Regions from separate parts of the Homo sapiens genome. Here regions 2, 3 and 4 are each linked to region 1. Evidence: promoter capture Hi-C in 16 types of primary human blood cells and fetal thymus (Javierre and others, 2016). All regions are on one chromosome and are shown on one strand. The core of a region is centred on a gene start or on the middle of the fragment in contact, and the rest is flanking DNA. Distances in the headings are between cores, read along the strand shown.

Region 1 (3,703 bases), core at 484-2,983:
AAATGTGGGAATGATTTTGTTGAATCCTACAGTCCTTTCAATGGACCCCAAAGTCCTATCCCCAGGCAAAGTTGGGAAAAAAAAAAACAAAAATCCCCTCGGACTACGACTCCCTGGGAAGGCTTTCCAGATGTTTTAAATTGCAGGAAAATGAATTTAGAACATAAGCAGATATCTACACATCACCTAAATCACTAGACCTGTCCTCAATTTTAAAACACACACACACACACACACACACACAAAGTACACCAGTCGGCAGAACAGGGCATTATAGGAAATAAAGAGTGTTAGTAAAATCCATAATGCTTTCTGTTAGACCTTCTGGGAGGTTATAATTGCATTTGGCCGGCTGCAGCCTTGTCGGAGAGCCTGGCTTCTTAATAGTCTCAACCCTAAAAGGAGTAACTGTCAAGGGGCGACCCAGCTGAAATCAAACAACAAAAACGGGAACTGTAACCCGCCTGAAATGGGAGGAGGAAAAGGAAGGGAGACTCCTGTATTCATCAGTCAACATTAATGTCCTTTGTTGTTCACCTTTACACAGAACAGCGAGAGCTATCCTGTTCCTTTTTCTCCGAACGCCAGTGTCAGGGTATGCTTTCCTAAAAGCTATCTCCCTGCCCCCAAGAACCAGGCTTTCCGATCCCCCTCCCCATTTATCACTCAGCAGCCCTGTACCGCCACACCGCCCCCACTGCGCTCACCCGGGGTCGAGAGGGTGGCCAGAAGTAAAAACACTGCTGAAATACCCGTTCTTCTCCAAAGACCAAAGAACCGAGCGGCGCAGATGTTGAAATTTACCAATGCCCCCGCCCCGCAACATACACACCCCATAAATCCGGGATCGCAGAGAGGGAGGAGGGTCAGAGAGGGCTCAGCTTGTCAGAGCGGCTCTCTCCAGGACCCTGCCACATTCCACACTCCGGGAATGTCGATCCGAGCCAGAGGGAAGGGTTTGCGCCTCCCTACTGTTTTGGGGGTGTTCTCTCTGCCCGAGTGTTGTTGTCTCCCTCTCCACCCAGAGGAACCGTTGCAGCTCCCTGTCGCTTTGGGGAAGAAGGGTAAGGAAGGAGAGAAACCCCATTCGCCTCCTCTTCCAACTTGACACACACACACACACACACACACACGCCCAGTCGCCACTCCAAACTCCGCAGGCAGAGCCCGAAGCTAGCGGGCCGGCCGCGCGCTCCCCCAAGCTGTCCCGGCGCTTCGGGAACCAGTGCGGGGCGCGCCGAGCAGGCGGTGCGGGGCGAGAGCCTGGTGCGCAGCCCTCTGCCTGGAGCTGGCTCGGCAAAGCCCCGTACCAGCTGCGCGATGCCAGGATTAGGCATTTTCAACCGGGCGGAGCGAGAGGGGCGCGGGGGCAAGGACGAGAAATGCGCACTCGCTCGGGCCAGAGCAGAATAAAAGTTCGCCCCGCGGAGACTCACCCACGCCGTATTTCTCGTGCTCCGTAGGTATCCACATGGCTAAAGGGGCTCCGGGGTCTTCAGGCTTTGTAATCCCCGCGCCCCTTCTCCGGCTCACAACAATGCACAGTCCCCGAGCAGCGCTGCAGTGCCGGAGCCCAGCGGCTTCGCGCGGGCTGCGGGCGCTGGGCAGGATCTGCGCTGGAGGCTCCCGAGCCCAGCGTTGACACTGCGCCGCCCGCAGCTCTCCCGGCGGCGGCTGCTCACAGTCCTCCGACGCGCTCCCGGGTACCCGGCGGCGCAGTCATTGTTCTGATTCACTGAACTAAGCGAACACGCCGGGGCACTCTCCGGCGCACCCCCGCCCGCCAGCGCCTAGTCCAGCCCTCCCGTCCCAGGGCCCCGCAGCACGCTGGGAATTGTAGTTCTTGGCCTCCCCATCCCGGAAGTGGGCGCGGCAAATGTGGTTCGGGGCGGGGATTCAGTTTTACTGATTGCGTCCTATTGGTCCAGAGCGCGGCGTAGGTGTGGAGAAAACATTACGTCGACGGGGAGTTCGCCTCCAGTAGCGTTTCTACTGGTGCCACCCCGCCTCCGACCCGCCCTGCGGCCCTCCCTTTTCTTTTCTGCCGGGTAATGGCTGCTTCCAAGACCCAGGGGGCTGTCGCCCGAATGCAGGAAGACCGTGATGGGAGCTGCAGCACAGTCGGGGGTGTAGGTTATGGGGGTGAGTACGGTGCCCCGGAGGCGCGGCTGATGTGTCTTCCTTTCTCTATGACCGGGTGTGCAACGGACCTCTGGTCTGACCCTAGGAGCCCTTCAGCTCTGGGGCCACCTGGGTTCGACTGGGCCCCACGGGTGGTGGCCCAGCGGGATGGGTTGGAGCCGGTGGCGGCTACTTGGTTGGGGCTGCCCGGGGATGGCGGAGAAAATGCCATGGGATGGCGGAGAAAATGCCATGGAATGGCCTTCCCCTCCGCCGGGGAAGCTCCCTGAGCGTTTGTCTTCTGGTTTGGAGCTCCCAGCTTTGAGCTAGCTGCTGAGTGGGTTTGGTTCAGATCTGGTTCGCGCGCGTGTGTTTATAATTTTGGGATTAGCAGCTCTTTCTCCTCACCAGTACACTGCCTTGGTTTGCTTGGTTTGACCTCGCAGGTGTGTTTTATTTAGCTTCCGGAGTATTTCCAGTCGCAGACTGGTGGTCACTGCTCTCCACTCTACAGATTTGCCCAGTTTGTGGCTGAGGTGACCTCTGAAGGGAAAGTGTGTGTATCTCACAACCTCCCTGTAGATGGTTAACTGCTCTGGGTGTTCTTCAGATTTGTATGTGGAGCCTGAGAGATCTTCCCAGTCTCTGGGTCCTTAGAGAAAGAAAAGGAAAGTGATAGATAATTTGCACTCGTGGCTTCAAAGAACATTTGAAAAGAGTTTTGAAAACCATCACAACTTTGGCTGTACCTGACTTTCAGGTTGTCCTCTGATCCACTGTAGGAATAAAAAACCAAATTTTGAAAGCTGCAGGTGGATTGTGTTTAGGACTCTTTTACCTTTAGTCTATCCCTCCCCCATTCCCCCCACCCCATTTTTGTCTTGATGTGTAATTTAGCACAAGTTGTCTTTTTCTGATGAACATGGTTTGGGGCTTAAATATAGTTCTCAGACTGTTGCGACTTTGTTTTTCGATTTATTTGTTTTTGCTTTCACAGTTAAATTGATATCATCTTAAGTATTTACCTCAGCGGCACAGAGTTGAAGTGCAGTTTTTTCCCACTTCCCAACAGTGGAACTCCCTACTCTGAAATTATTTTAGTACCTCTACCAAACAAATCTTTGGTAGTCTCCTGAGTTAAATATTGAATTTAACACCCTAATGGTTTATTTTTGGGTTGGTTATATATTGGGCTATCTGATGGTAACAGACTATTACGGTTTCCTAGATTTTCAAAGTTCCAGAGGGCTACCAGTTTAAGATCTAAACTGGTGAATTTATCTCACAGTCTAACTTATTTTAAAAAATGGCCGGGCACGGTGGCTCACCCCTGTAATACCAGCACTTTGGGAGGCCGAGGCGAGTGGATCACAAGGTCAGGAGTTCGAGACCAGCCTGGCCAATATGGTGAAACCCCGTCTCTACTAAAAATACAAAAATTAGCCGGGCGTGGTGGCGGATGCCTGTAGTCCCAGCTACTCGGGAGGCCGAGGCAGGAGAATCCCTTGAGCCCGGGAGGCGGAGGTTGTGGTGAGCCATGATCCACCACTGCACTCCAGCCTGGGAGGCAGAGCAAGACTCT
Region 2 (3,703 bases), core at 379-2,878, 4.5 Mb before region 1:
ATCTTGAAAACCACCTAGCAATACAGAACTTTACATTTAAAAAAAGCAGGGGTAATTTTGATTCACAAATGTCCTTAGTTGTGAATGTACCTAAAAACTTGTTTATAAAGCTGCATATATAGAGCAGAAAAATCTTTTACAAGATCTCAGGAAAATAATCACCAAATAACATGGTGCACTTAAATCGCACTGATCATCACAGCATGATTCACAAATAATACCGTACAACTACAAAGATATAACACATCGCTACACATACTTTATTTGCAATTCAGTACCATGAAAACATTTCTCTAAGAGGTCAATGTAATAATCTTTTATTGATATAGGAACTCTGGCACTGAAAGCTTGAATAACCCAAGGTAATGATGTCGTCACCAAGGGAGGACAAGAATAGAACCCAAATCCCTTGACTCCCAAGCTTGTGTTTTCCATTAATTGTGCTCCTTTCTATTCATCCAAGAGCATCAAGTGTAAAAGGCTGGAGAAAGGAGTGGACACAAATGAGCCAAGTCCGCAAGGTGGAGACTGCACTGAAGGTCCTAGGAATCGCCCCTTGGCACTTTCCTTTTGTGTTGGCTGAGGAAGATGAAAGCAGCAACAACCACAAACTCCTGGGACCAAGAACTGGAACTAGGTACTGCTTGTTGTGGTAACTCTCTTCCTCATTTTAGGCCTTTCCTTTTTAACCTCTCCTTCCGGCCAAGCCTTCGCGCTCTCTTCCCCTCCCTCGGTTTCTATCCGCTCCCGTTAGCTCCACTCCGCACATTCCTGCAAGGTGTCCCCGTTAAGAGGAGGCAGCTGCGCCGCACTGGCTCTCCACCCTCCATCCGGCCCTGGCGCCCAGTCGTCAGGTGTTCGAGAGGTTCGTAGCGTCACAAGCGCTCTCCCTAGAAAGTGAGTGGCAGTCAAGCATTATAAACGTGTTTCAACTGTAAAGAGACTTAAGAGATGGGAACCGGGGCATATACCAAGTTAGCTCTGCGTGGGTCTAGGTAGCTCGTCACGACAAAGCAAAATTTAGACAAGCGTTGAGACTTTCCTTCTAGCTCCGAGTTTCACAGCTCCGCCATCCCCTGAGCAACCTCCCACTGGAGGGCGCCTTCCGGAGCGCGCGTGTTTACACTTTTGCTACACCAGGCGGAGGAAACAAGCGCTCGCTGACCCCGGGGGATTCCAAACCGTTACTCCGCCCGCCGGGGTGGGGCCAGCGCAACGGCCGAGCCTGCGCAGCCAGCCGGCTCCGGGGGCCCCGCGCACTACAAGTCCCAGAAGGCAGCTCTCCGCGGGGCGGGCAGTCGCCTTATCTGCTTCTGGCTCATTTTTACCACTGCTCTCCCCTTCCCCGGTCCCCCTGGTGTCCTTTCCACAGTTAAAGGCTACTTTCTCTTGAAGCACATGAGGAGAAGCCTTAGCAACCTCAATACCGAAGTTCTTCGCGCGCTCGCTCTTTCTGCCTCCGCCCGAACTATGCCTGAGTCCCTCACAGGAGTTGGATAGTAGAGGCGAGAGAAGGAAGTCTTTGCAGGCCAAAATTGGGACAACCTGCTTGGACTTCCGCCTCCCGGCCTCCGGAAGGCAGTGCGCACGCGCTCGCTGCGACTCCGGCGCGGTTGACTTCCGCTCCCACTGTGCTCTGCGAGCCGAATCATGGATCACACTGGTAAGGAGGCGGAGGCAGTGGGGGTCCCGGTTCCAAGCCCCCTTGGCCGGCCTGGGGCTGGTCGCACAGCAGGCAAAAGGGATTATGCTCGCCCCACAACACTAGGGTGTGGCAGTGAGAAGAAATCTCACAGATGCCTTCCTGTGCCCGGCAGGGGCCTGCGGTTTCCTGGCCTACCGTCTGGTGTGGTACCTACCTCCTCCGTGCCGGCAACAACCGCTCCTACTCTGGTTCTGCTGAGCTCCGAGCCCGGACCAGTGGGCGATGTAGGCCTTCGGGAAGGGAGAGCCCCGGCTCTGTTTTATTTAGCCCAGCTGCTCTGGCCTACGTTATGGAGACTGGCGGGTAGATTGCGGTCTCCGAGTCGCGGAATCCTCTTTACGCTGGGAGTGGACGGGCGAGAATGGGTTGGAGACTTCCTGCTGTCTCAGTCAGCTTTGGGCGGGTGCTGCAGTGGTCACCCCCTGTCGTCTCTCCGATCCTTTATGGACTAGAGGGGTGAAAGAAGGGAGTCTGATAGAGTTTTTGGAATCAAACTCGGAGCAGTTTTTCTACCTAAACCAAAAGCATGCCCCGCGCTTCGGCTGAGGTCCTTACTCATCATTTGAGGGTATTTACAAAGAGGAGTTTAAAATCAAGGCATTCTCATACTTTTCTCCAAGTAAGAGTGGCTCCACCCTTTGTTATGTATTTTCTGGCTTTTGCTTCTTTGTGGTTCTTGGATATTGAATGAGTGCTCTTGGAGTTATGTGCCCCATACATTTATAGCGACCGTATCACAAATAGAGAAAAAAAGGCTTTTTCTTGAGTATTGAGTTGTCCTCACTCATCAGATATCTACTTGGTTATATAATTAGGTGTGTATGTTTATTTATGTAGGTGTGTATGTTTATTTATGCAAGATACATGCAGATATCTATAGGTCGGGAGATGGAAGATGGAATGGTAAACGAGACGGACCAGGTCCGTGATAGAACTTCTGTTTTATGGAGGAACACAGACAATACGTTCTTTTTTTTTAAATTTATTATTTTTTTAATGTTTGCGGATTATTTTGAAGAAAATAAACGAGTGCTGTGGAGAGATTCATAGGACGAAATTTCAGAGAGGGTTGTTAGGAATGGTCTTTGTGGAAGCTAAGATCTGATGGATGAGAAGAACCCAGCCCTGGGAAAAAAGCAAGAGGAAGAGCATTTCCAGCAAGTGCGAAGGCACTGAGGTAGGAAGATACAGTGAAGTCAGCTGCAGCCTCCTAATAGCCAGAGGGTAGGAGTCCTGAAGTGAGATTGGAAAGGAGGGCAGCAGGCACATCATTCAGGTCATTGAAAGCCGTGGTAAACGTTTGAATTTTAATTTAAGTGAATATGAAGCCATTGAACAGAAGTGGAGGAGGAACACAGTCTCTTAAAAAATACAATAGGCTGTTCTATGAAGAATGGTGTAAGAGAGGGAGGTAAGAATGATGGAAAATAGCTGATTGCAGTAGACGGGAAGGGAAGGTTGGTTTGGTGAAAATGAAGGAGAATGGGCAGCTTCAGTAAATACTCTGGTGGTGTTTGAAGGAATGTGAGAGAAAGGAGAAATGCCTAGGCTTTTGGTTTGAGCAACTAGGTAGGGTCCATTATTGAGCTGAGGAAAACTTGGGGCAGAAAACAATCTTTTTTTGTAGAGGTGAGACGGGAATTTGGGAACAAGTGTTTGGTCTTGGACTGCTAGTGTGAGATAACTACTGAGACACAGGAGAGATGCCAAGTGGAGATGAGAGGAAAGATCTGCACTGAAAATACGTATTTGGAAGTTAGTACCTTTATTTATAGCTGGTATTTTAAAGCATGAGGACAGATGAGACCACTTAAGAAGGGTGTGTTCAGAGGAGAAGCCGGCCTAGAACGAGGCTGTAAAGAATTCCAGTGTTTGGGAATTTATAGAGTTGAAACTGGGATTTTGATGTTAGAATAGCAAACATTCAACTTTAGGAAAGTAATTCTTATTTGAGCCCACTACTGGAATTATGAGTCAAGTTCCTGCCATAGTTTAGAG
Region 3 (3,703 bases), core at 387-2,886, 3.7 Mb before region 1:
CCCATAAGACTATAAACGGGCTTCTATGCTGTATTTTTCACTGTATCTTTCTATAGATATTTTTTATCTAGATATTTGTATATCTGTAGATACGTAAGTATTCTTATCATTGTGTCACAATTGCCTACAGTATTCAGTATAGTCACCTGCTGTACAGGTTTATAGCCTAGGAACTATAGGCTATACCATTTAGCCTACATGTGTAGTAGGCTATACCATCTAAGTATGTCTAAGTACACTCTATAACACAGGTTTATAGCCTAGGAACTATAGGCTATACCATTTAGCCTACATGTGTAGTAGGCTATACCATCTAAGTATGTCTAAGTACACTCTATAATACTTGCACAATGACAAAATAATCTAATGACACACTTCTCAGAATGTATCCCTATCATTAAGTGATGCATGATTGTATTGTATCTAAGAGGCATATAAAATTTCTCTTTAAAAATCTAGGGTAAGAAGGCTGGGCGCGGTGGCTCACGCCCGTAATCCCAGCACTTTGGGAGGCTGAGGTGGGCGAATCACGAGGTCAGGAGATCGAGACTATCCTGGCTAACATGGTGAAACCCTGTCTCTACTAAAAAATACAAAAAATTAGCCGGGCGTGGTGGCGGCTGCCTATAGTCCCAGCTACTTGGGAGGCTGAGGCAGGAGAATGGCGTGAGCCCGGGAGGCGGAGCTTGCAGTGAGCCGAGATTGTGCCACTGCACTCCAGCCTGGGCGACAGAGCAAGACTCCGTCTCAAAAAAAAAAAAAAACTAGGGTAAAAAATGTCATAATGTTCCTTAAATCACTAGATTTGATTTTTAAAATTATGATGAAATAATTCTTATTTTCAGTCCATCTTTCATGTTCTTCCATTTCTGGTATAGTTTTACCGAATTTATAAAAGGTATAAGGATGATATCCCATCTCTTCATAGAATGACTCAATATATAAAGAATTAATACAATCTGTAATACCTTAATAAAAGGGCCCTCAGGGCCGGGCACGATGGCTCATGCCTGTAATCCCAGCACTTTGGGAGGCCAAGGCGGGCAGATCACCTGAGTTTGGGAGTTTGAGACCAGCCTGACCAACATGAAGAAACCCTGTCTCTACTAAAAATACAAAAAAATTAGCCAGGCGTGGTGGTGCATGCCTGTAATCCCAGCTACTTGGGAGGCTGAGGCAGGAGAATCACTTGAACCTGGGAGACGGAGGTTATGGTGAGCCGAGATCGTGCTATTGCACTCCAGCCTGGGCAATAAGAGTGAAACTCTGTCTCAAAAAATAAAAATAAAATAAAATAAAATGGCCCTCAGGACAAGTGCTTTCACCAGACCTTCAGATGGAACTAGGTGTTATATTTAAGAGACTCTAAGCTTACCTTAGGACATGTGGGGTTTCTTGCTGTTTCAATCATCAGTGCAGATCCCATCCTATCCCTTTATTAAAGGAGAAAAAAATAAGTTATATCAAAATGACTTTATCTCCTAACAACCAGGAAACATACAGTATGCAATTACTATTTGTCCATGGCTTTGTCAAAGTGCTATGAAGGAAAACATGTAAGACTCTCCTCTAGGAGGCTTATAATTCCATTAATGCACATGAAACAATATGCAGTTATTTATCAACCTCTGATTCAAACTGCAAGTATCTACAGTTCTGAGGTGGAGCAACGAACAGAGGGGCAGTAACTGGAAAAGATGCAGGAAGGTTGCTGGAGGAAGACATTGAAAGACTGCAAGGCAACATATTTAAAGCTAGGACATATACAGATTAAAGGCACAAAGGCAAAATAAATCTGTTGTTTTCAGGGTCCTGCCAATAGGATAAAGGAGCTGTGTTGAGATAAGACTGCAGAAGTATGCACGGGCTAGTTAGAGTAACCAGGTGAGGACAATGAGACTTTAAGCTTGTTTTAGTTGGTAACAGCCAATGTCATCAAGAAAATGGCTTTGAAAATCATCAGAGTTGGCATTTGAATTACTATGACATTACAGAAATTGTCCTTGGGCAGCAATTTTTGCAATTCCATAATAAGAGAATTTTATTTCAATGCAGACTTTTCCAGACTTAAAAATTATGTATTTTCCCTATATTGAATACAAAGACTATGGTTTCACCAGCCTTCCTCATGAGTAAAACCATTTTCTAATGTGTTTTTCAAACAATACTCATGTTTCCCAACTAGAATATTAGTGAACTTCATAAAAAGAATATTTACAAACTGCTCAGTGATCTACCCTTTATAAGCTTTAATAAATATCAATGTAAAATACTTTCCAAAATGGACAAGATCTTTTGTCTTTCCCAACCTGATCTATACATTTCTACTACATAAAGATCAATGCATTTTATCTTTTTAAGGTTCTTTGTCTTTTCACAGAATTCTTACTGTAAAATTACAAGAGAAATCCTAGGAGCATGCTGATTTCACACTTTTTGGCAAAGTTCATATTTATTTATTTTTATATTTGTTTAAATCTTGGTTTTCTCAAAACCTAAAATGCTTTTAGTGAATTCACTTATGAATATAAACTTGTAAAAAAAGCAATGGTAATTGTTTATTTCCGAGATGTCAAAATATGAAAAAAAAATCAACATGCCTAGATTCTACTGATGGCATAAAATAGTTCCCTTAAAATAACACAAAATTATCACAGCAAAATAAATAAATAAATAAAAGTCCTCTCAATAAACAATGGGCGAAAAAATGCTACGACAAAAAAGGCCAGAAGGTAGATATAGAAGAATATTAACAATACTGGCACCCAGTGAATCACAGTCCTGGTATCCATGTCATTGTATACAGTCTCTTCCTATACAGACTCTTGGTTGGCATGGCTTTCGTCCATGTGACCTCAACAAACATGCCATTAAACTGAGGCTTGATAAGTGCTTATGCACTGGGGCTTGCTCTCTGGGAACTCTGAAACCACAATGATGAGACGAAGCTTGGGTGAGAATGACCAGGTGGAGAGAGAGGCTTCCCAGGCCCATTGGTAGAGCCACCAAGTGAGCTCCGGCAAGAACAGAAGAAACACCCAGTCAAACCACAGAGTCATGAGACTAAATCATCATTGTTTTAAGCCACTAAGTTTTGGAGTGGCTTGTTCTGCAGCAAAGGCTGAGTTTGAAAAAGCAGAGAAAGAAAAAACAACTAACGACACTGATAAAATTTATCAATGCCATGATTAAAAATAAAGAAGTTGCCAGAAGAGCAAAAATGAGACAGCAATACATAAATATGCAAAGATACTCTCATAAGTAACAAAAGGAAAAATTTCATAGTAGAGAAGCTGGTTTTAGAATAAATTTTTAAATTTTCATTAAATAATAAAAAGTATTGATTGTATGAATACTGGGAATAGATATGAATTTTATATATATATATTTTTTGAGACGGAGTCTCGCTCTGTCGCCCAGACTGGAGTGCAGTGGTCTCAGCTCACTGCAAGCTCCACCTCCCAGGTTCACACCATTCTCCTGCCTCAGCCTCCCCAGTAGCTGGGACTACAGGCGCCCGCCCCCATGCCTGGCTTTTTTTTTTTTTTTTTTTTTTTTTGTATTTTTAGTAGAGATGGGGTTTCACCGTGTAGGCCAGGAAGGTGAATTATATTTTCTAATTGACACAAAAGATGTGAAAATAAGTAACATACAATGATAATGGATGGGAAGCTTTCACGATTGGAAAGATGTCAATGTTCCA
Region 4 (3,703 bases), core at 723-3,222, 3.6 Mb before region 1:
TTTAACCATCAACATGCCTGCCACTTCCAAATTTTTATCTCTAGCCAAGATTCATATATTAAAAACTGCAGATTCATATATCCAACTGTCCACTTAACATGTCTAATGTGGTATTGTGGATATTCCAACTCTGACCTGCTCCAGCTCAGCTGATTGTAAAGCCATCCTTCCAGTTGTTTAGGTTAAAACCCCAGAGTGATTCTTGATTTCTTTCATGCTCTTAGCACTCACACTCCATAGGCAATCCCACTGGCTTTGCCTTCAATGTATTTTCAGTATCTGACAGCTTCCTTTCAACTCCAATGTTAGTACCAGCATCATCTTTCATAGGGATTATTAGGTAAAAGAAAGTTTTCATTCTCTACCCCTTATTAGTCTGTTATCAAGCCAACAATGAGAGTTATTCTTTTTAAAGGTACATAAGAACTTGTTATCTTTCTGCCTAAAGCCTTCCATTTACTCCCTCCCCATTCCCAGTAAGAGCTAAATCATTTACAATAGTCTATGAAGTCCTACACAATCAGCTTACCTTCCCTTTACCTCACTGATTTTATCTTTGACTGCTTTTCCCCTTTGTATTAGCCAGGGTTCTCTAGAGCAACAGAACTAATAGGGTATATATTATAAATAAGGGGATTATTAAGGAGAATTGACTCACATGATCACAAGGTGAAGTCCCATGATAGTCTGTCTGCAAGGTGAGGAGCAAGGAAGCCAGTGGTGGATCAATCTGTGGCCAAAGGCTCGAGAACCCCTGGCAAACCACTGGTATAAGTCCAAGACTCTTAAAGCTCAAGAACTTGGAGTCTTATGTTCCAGGGCAGGAAGCATCCAGCACAGGAGAAAGATGAAGGCCAGAAGACTCAGCAAGTCTACTCTTCTGTCTTCTCCTGCCTGCTTTATTCTAGCTGCACTGGCAGCTGATTAGATGGTGCCCACCCAGATTGAGGATGGGTCTGCCTCTCCCAGTCCACTGACTCAAATGTTAATCTCCTTTGGCAACACCCTCACAGAACATCCAGGAACAATACTTTGCATCCTTTAATCCAGTCAAGTTGACACTCAATATTAACCATCACACCCTTCTTCATTCTGTACTAGCCAGACAGGAATCCTCACTCTTCCAGGAACACGCCAGGCTTGCTTTCTCTTTAGGGCCTTTGCACTAGCTGGTTCCTCTGTTTGGAGCATTCTTGATTATACAGCCAATCCCTTCAGCTTCTTCCAGTCTTGGCTCACCTGTCACCTCTTCAATGGGGCCTTTCTGGCCACCCTATTTAATACCACACTGTGTCCCTCCTCCCTCACACTCTCCATCCCTTTATCTTACTCTGTTTTTATTTTCACACAGCACTTATCACCTTATTTCATTACTTATTATGTTATTATCTGTTTCCTCCTGATAGAATATAAGCTACTTGGAGGTAGGGATCTTCCACTGCTGTGTCTCAAGTGCCTATATCTGTGACTGGTATAGGGTAAATTTTCCATAACTATTTAGTGAATAAGTAAATTCGACGTCATATGTGTATATCTCATAATTTGATTTTCTGAAAAGTTACAAAATCCTTTACTTATATGATAAACTAGACTCATCTGCATTGGGACATCTTCCTTATACCAAATAAATGATATCTGTTAATAAAGATATTGGGATACAGGTTTAGTCATCCACAAATTTTTTTTAAATTTTTTTTTAAATTTTTTTTTTTTTTTTTTTTTGAGATGGAGTCTCGCACTATAGCCCAGGCTGGAATGCAATGATGTGATCTTGGCTCACTGCAACCTCCACCTCCTGGGTTCAAGTGATTCTCCCGCCTCAGCCTCCTGAGTAGCTGGGATTACAGGTGTGCACCACCACACCTGGGTAATTTTTGTGTTTTTAGTAGAGACAGGGTTTCACCATGTTGGCCAGGCTGGTCTCGAACTCCTGGCCTCAGGTGATCCACCCGCCTTGGCCTCCCAAAGTGCTGGGATTACAGGCGTGAGCCACCGTGCCCACCTCACAATATGTTTTTTTAATCCCAAATGATAACATCTCTTTTTCTATAACTTTTCTATCATTATTTTTCTTCCAGATATTTTAGTGTGAGAAAATAATTTTCTGTTCAAATGCCATTGTCCAAACTGTCAGAGATACTATCTTATAAGGAATTATTATTGGAAGGAAACAAAATCAGTTTATATATCAATACTGGTGGATCTTGAGATACTTAGAAAACTAGGTCACATCCCCTCAGTTATGAGATCAGAGGGGAACTTAAAAGAAAGAAGACTTTTACCTTGTTAGAAAGTTAAAATCAAGTGTGAACTCTTTTTATGTAGACATCTTCTGTGTGAGTTTATTTTTTAAGGACTTTTATTTATCTTTTTTTTTTTTTTAAGAGACAGGGTCAGCCAGGCAGTGGCATGATCACGATCATAGCTCACTGCAATCTTGAACTCCTGGGTTCAAGCCATCCTCCAGCCTCAGCCTGGACTGCAAGGCATATGCCACCACACTTGGCTAATTTTTTAATTTTTATGTTCTTTTTTTTTTTTTTTTTGTAGAGACAGAGTCTCACTATGTTGCCCAGGCTGGTCTTGAATTCCTGGCCTCAAGTAACCCTTGCATCTCCACCTCCCAGAGTGCTGGGATTACAGGCATGAGCCATCATGCCCAGCTGAGGACCTTTAAAAGAGCAACTCCTCCCTGTCTCAATTCCTCTGAGCTGCTTGTATTGGCACAGTGACATGCAATTGAAATTTCATTTTCAAGCCATAATAAATGGTATACTGAAAATTTCCCCTATTTGTTAGTTACAAACAAAACAATTCTGTCTTTTCCTCCACTTCTAGAATATTTTCAAATTGGTCATATAGGAGGTCAAAAGAAATCTCTATGAATTCATGTTTGACAATCTATAAAGTATGTTTCAGCTGGGACTGCTAACAGAAAAGACTGATGTGAACCTGATATCACCAATGGCTACTTTATGGGACCTGAAAAGAGCTTCATAGAGGATTTCAGAGCCATTTAGCCCTAGGTCCAGCTGTGCCTGAAACCATCTTTCCTTGAACACTTCAGTTATATGAGACAAAAAAGTCTCCTTTTCACTTAAGCCAATTTGAATTGAATTCTAGCACTTGCCACTCACATGGACATTTTATCAAGTGTCAAGGGCAACAAGGAGTTACACTGAGTTCCCCCAGAGAAGGAAGGAGAAAGATAGAAGCACAAGGGAAGCTAATGTTTAGATCACAAGATAGAAACTGCTGCCCAGGAGGAGAGAAAAAACCCCTGAGGTTGGAAGAACGCAGGGTGTCTGATTAATGAATGGCAGGGCTATCCTCCCACTCAGCTGCCCTGGAGGATTCCACAGAAATGGCACATGCATGCCTGTGATTTGTTCCTTAAGTGCCTCAGCCTTAAGAGCAGTAGTAATGCCTGTGACCAATCCTGTGGTCAGTGTAGGGTATAGGGCTCCCAAAATATTGTGCCATGGCCTAACAGGGTTATCCAGTTGCCTCAGTGTGCTGTAAATTTTTTTTTCATTTTTACTGTATTCCCTGATGTAAAAAAAGAGATTGGAAAGCACTAGAAGAGGATTGCCATGTGAGGTTTCTATCATAGAGCTTGTAGCAGACAAATCATCATCCCCCAAAGATGTCCATGTCCTAATTCCTAGAACCTGCGAATATGTTGGGTTACCTGGCAAGGGGG

The links. Contacts are between HindIII fragments. The CHiCAGO score rates a contact against its expected background, and 5 or more counts as called.
Region 2: the fragment with the promoter of CBLL1 here is called in contact with the fragment with the promoter of DOCK4 in region 1 in 1 of 17 cell types (fetal thymus); the score reaches 5.9 in fetal thymus.
Region 3: a contact is called between a fragment that was not itself captured here and the fragment with the promoter of DOCK4 in region 1, in 1 of 17 cell types (total CD4 T cells). The highest score is 5.6, in total CD4 T cells.
Region 4: a fragment that was not itself captured here is called in contact with the fragment with the promoter of DOCK4 in region 1 in 1 of 17 cell types (non-activated CD4 T cells); the score reaches 8.8 in non-activated CD4 T cells.

Annotation. Positions count from the first base shown.
Region 1 is chr7:112,204,666-112,208,368 of GRCh38, forward strand. DOCK4 (dedicator of cytokinesis 4) reads right to left here and starts at 1,734. Exons shown (of 53, transcript NM_001363540.2): 1 at 1,437-1,734. The coding sequence starts at 1,473. It overlaps ZNF277 (zinc finger protein 277), which reads left to right and starts at 2,030. Exons shown (of 12, transcript NM_021994.3): 1 at 2,030-2,142. The coding sequence starts at 2,052. RefSeq lists a silencer at 1,606-1,955 and an enhancer at 2,126-2,245. The HindIII fragment of the contact is 7,990 bases long and covers 1-3,703 here.
Region 2 is chr7:107,742,514-107,746,216 of GRCh38, forward strand. CBLL1 (Cbl proto-oncogene like 1) reads left to right here and starts at 1,629. Exons shown (of 6, transcript NM_024814.4): 1 at 1,629-1,663. The coding sequence starts at 1,651. CBLL1-AS1 (CBLL1 antisense RNA 1) reads right to left here and starts at 2,068. Exons shown (of 2, transcript NR_144537.1): 1 at 1,860-2,068; 2 at 240-890. RefSeq lists enhancers at 218-737, 738-1,256, 1,354-1,573, 1,924-2,103 and a silencer at 1,114-1,313. The HindIII fragment of the contact is 5,122 bases long and covers 420-3,703 here.
Region 3 is chr7:108,490,035-108,493,737 of GRCh38, forward strand. PNPLA8 (patatin like domain 8, phospholipase A2) reads right to left here. Exons shown (of 11, transcript NM_001256007.3): 8 at 1,376-1,433. Among named protein-coding and RNA genes, the nearest start is that of PNPLA8, 34 kb to the right of the region's middle. The HindIII fragment of the contact is 536 bases long and covers 1,369-1,904 here.
Region 4 is chr7:108,586,743-108,590,445 of GRCh38, forward strand. No RefSeq gene overlaps it. Among named protein-coding and RNA genes, the nearest start is that of DNAJB9, 19 kb to the left of the region's middle. The HindIII fragment of the contact is 6,518 bases long and covers 1-3,703 here.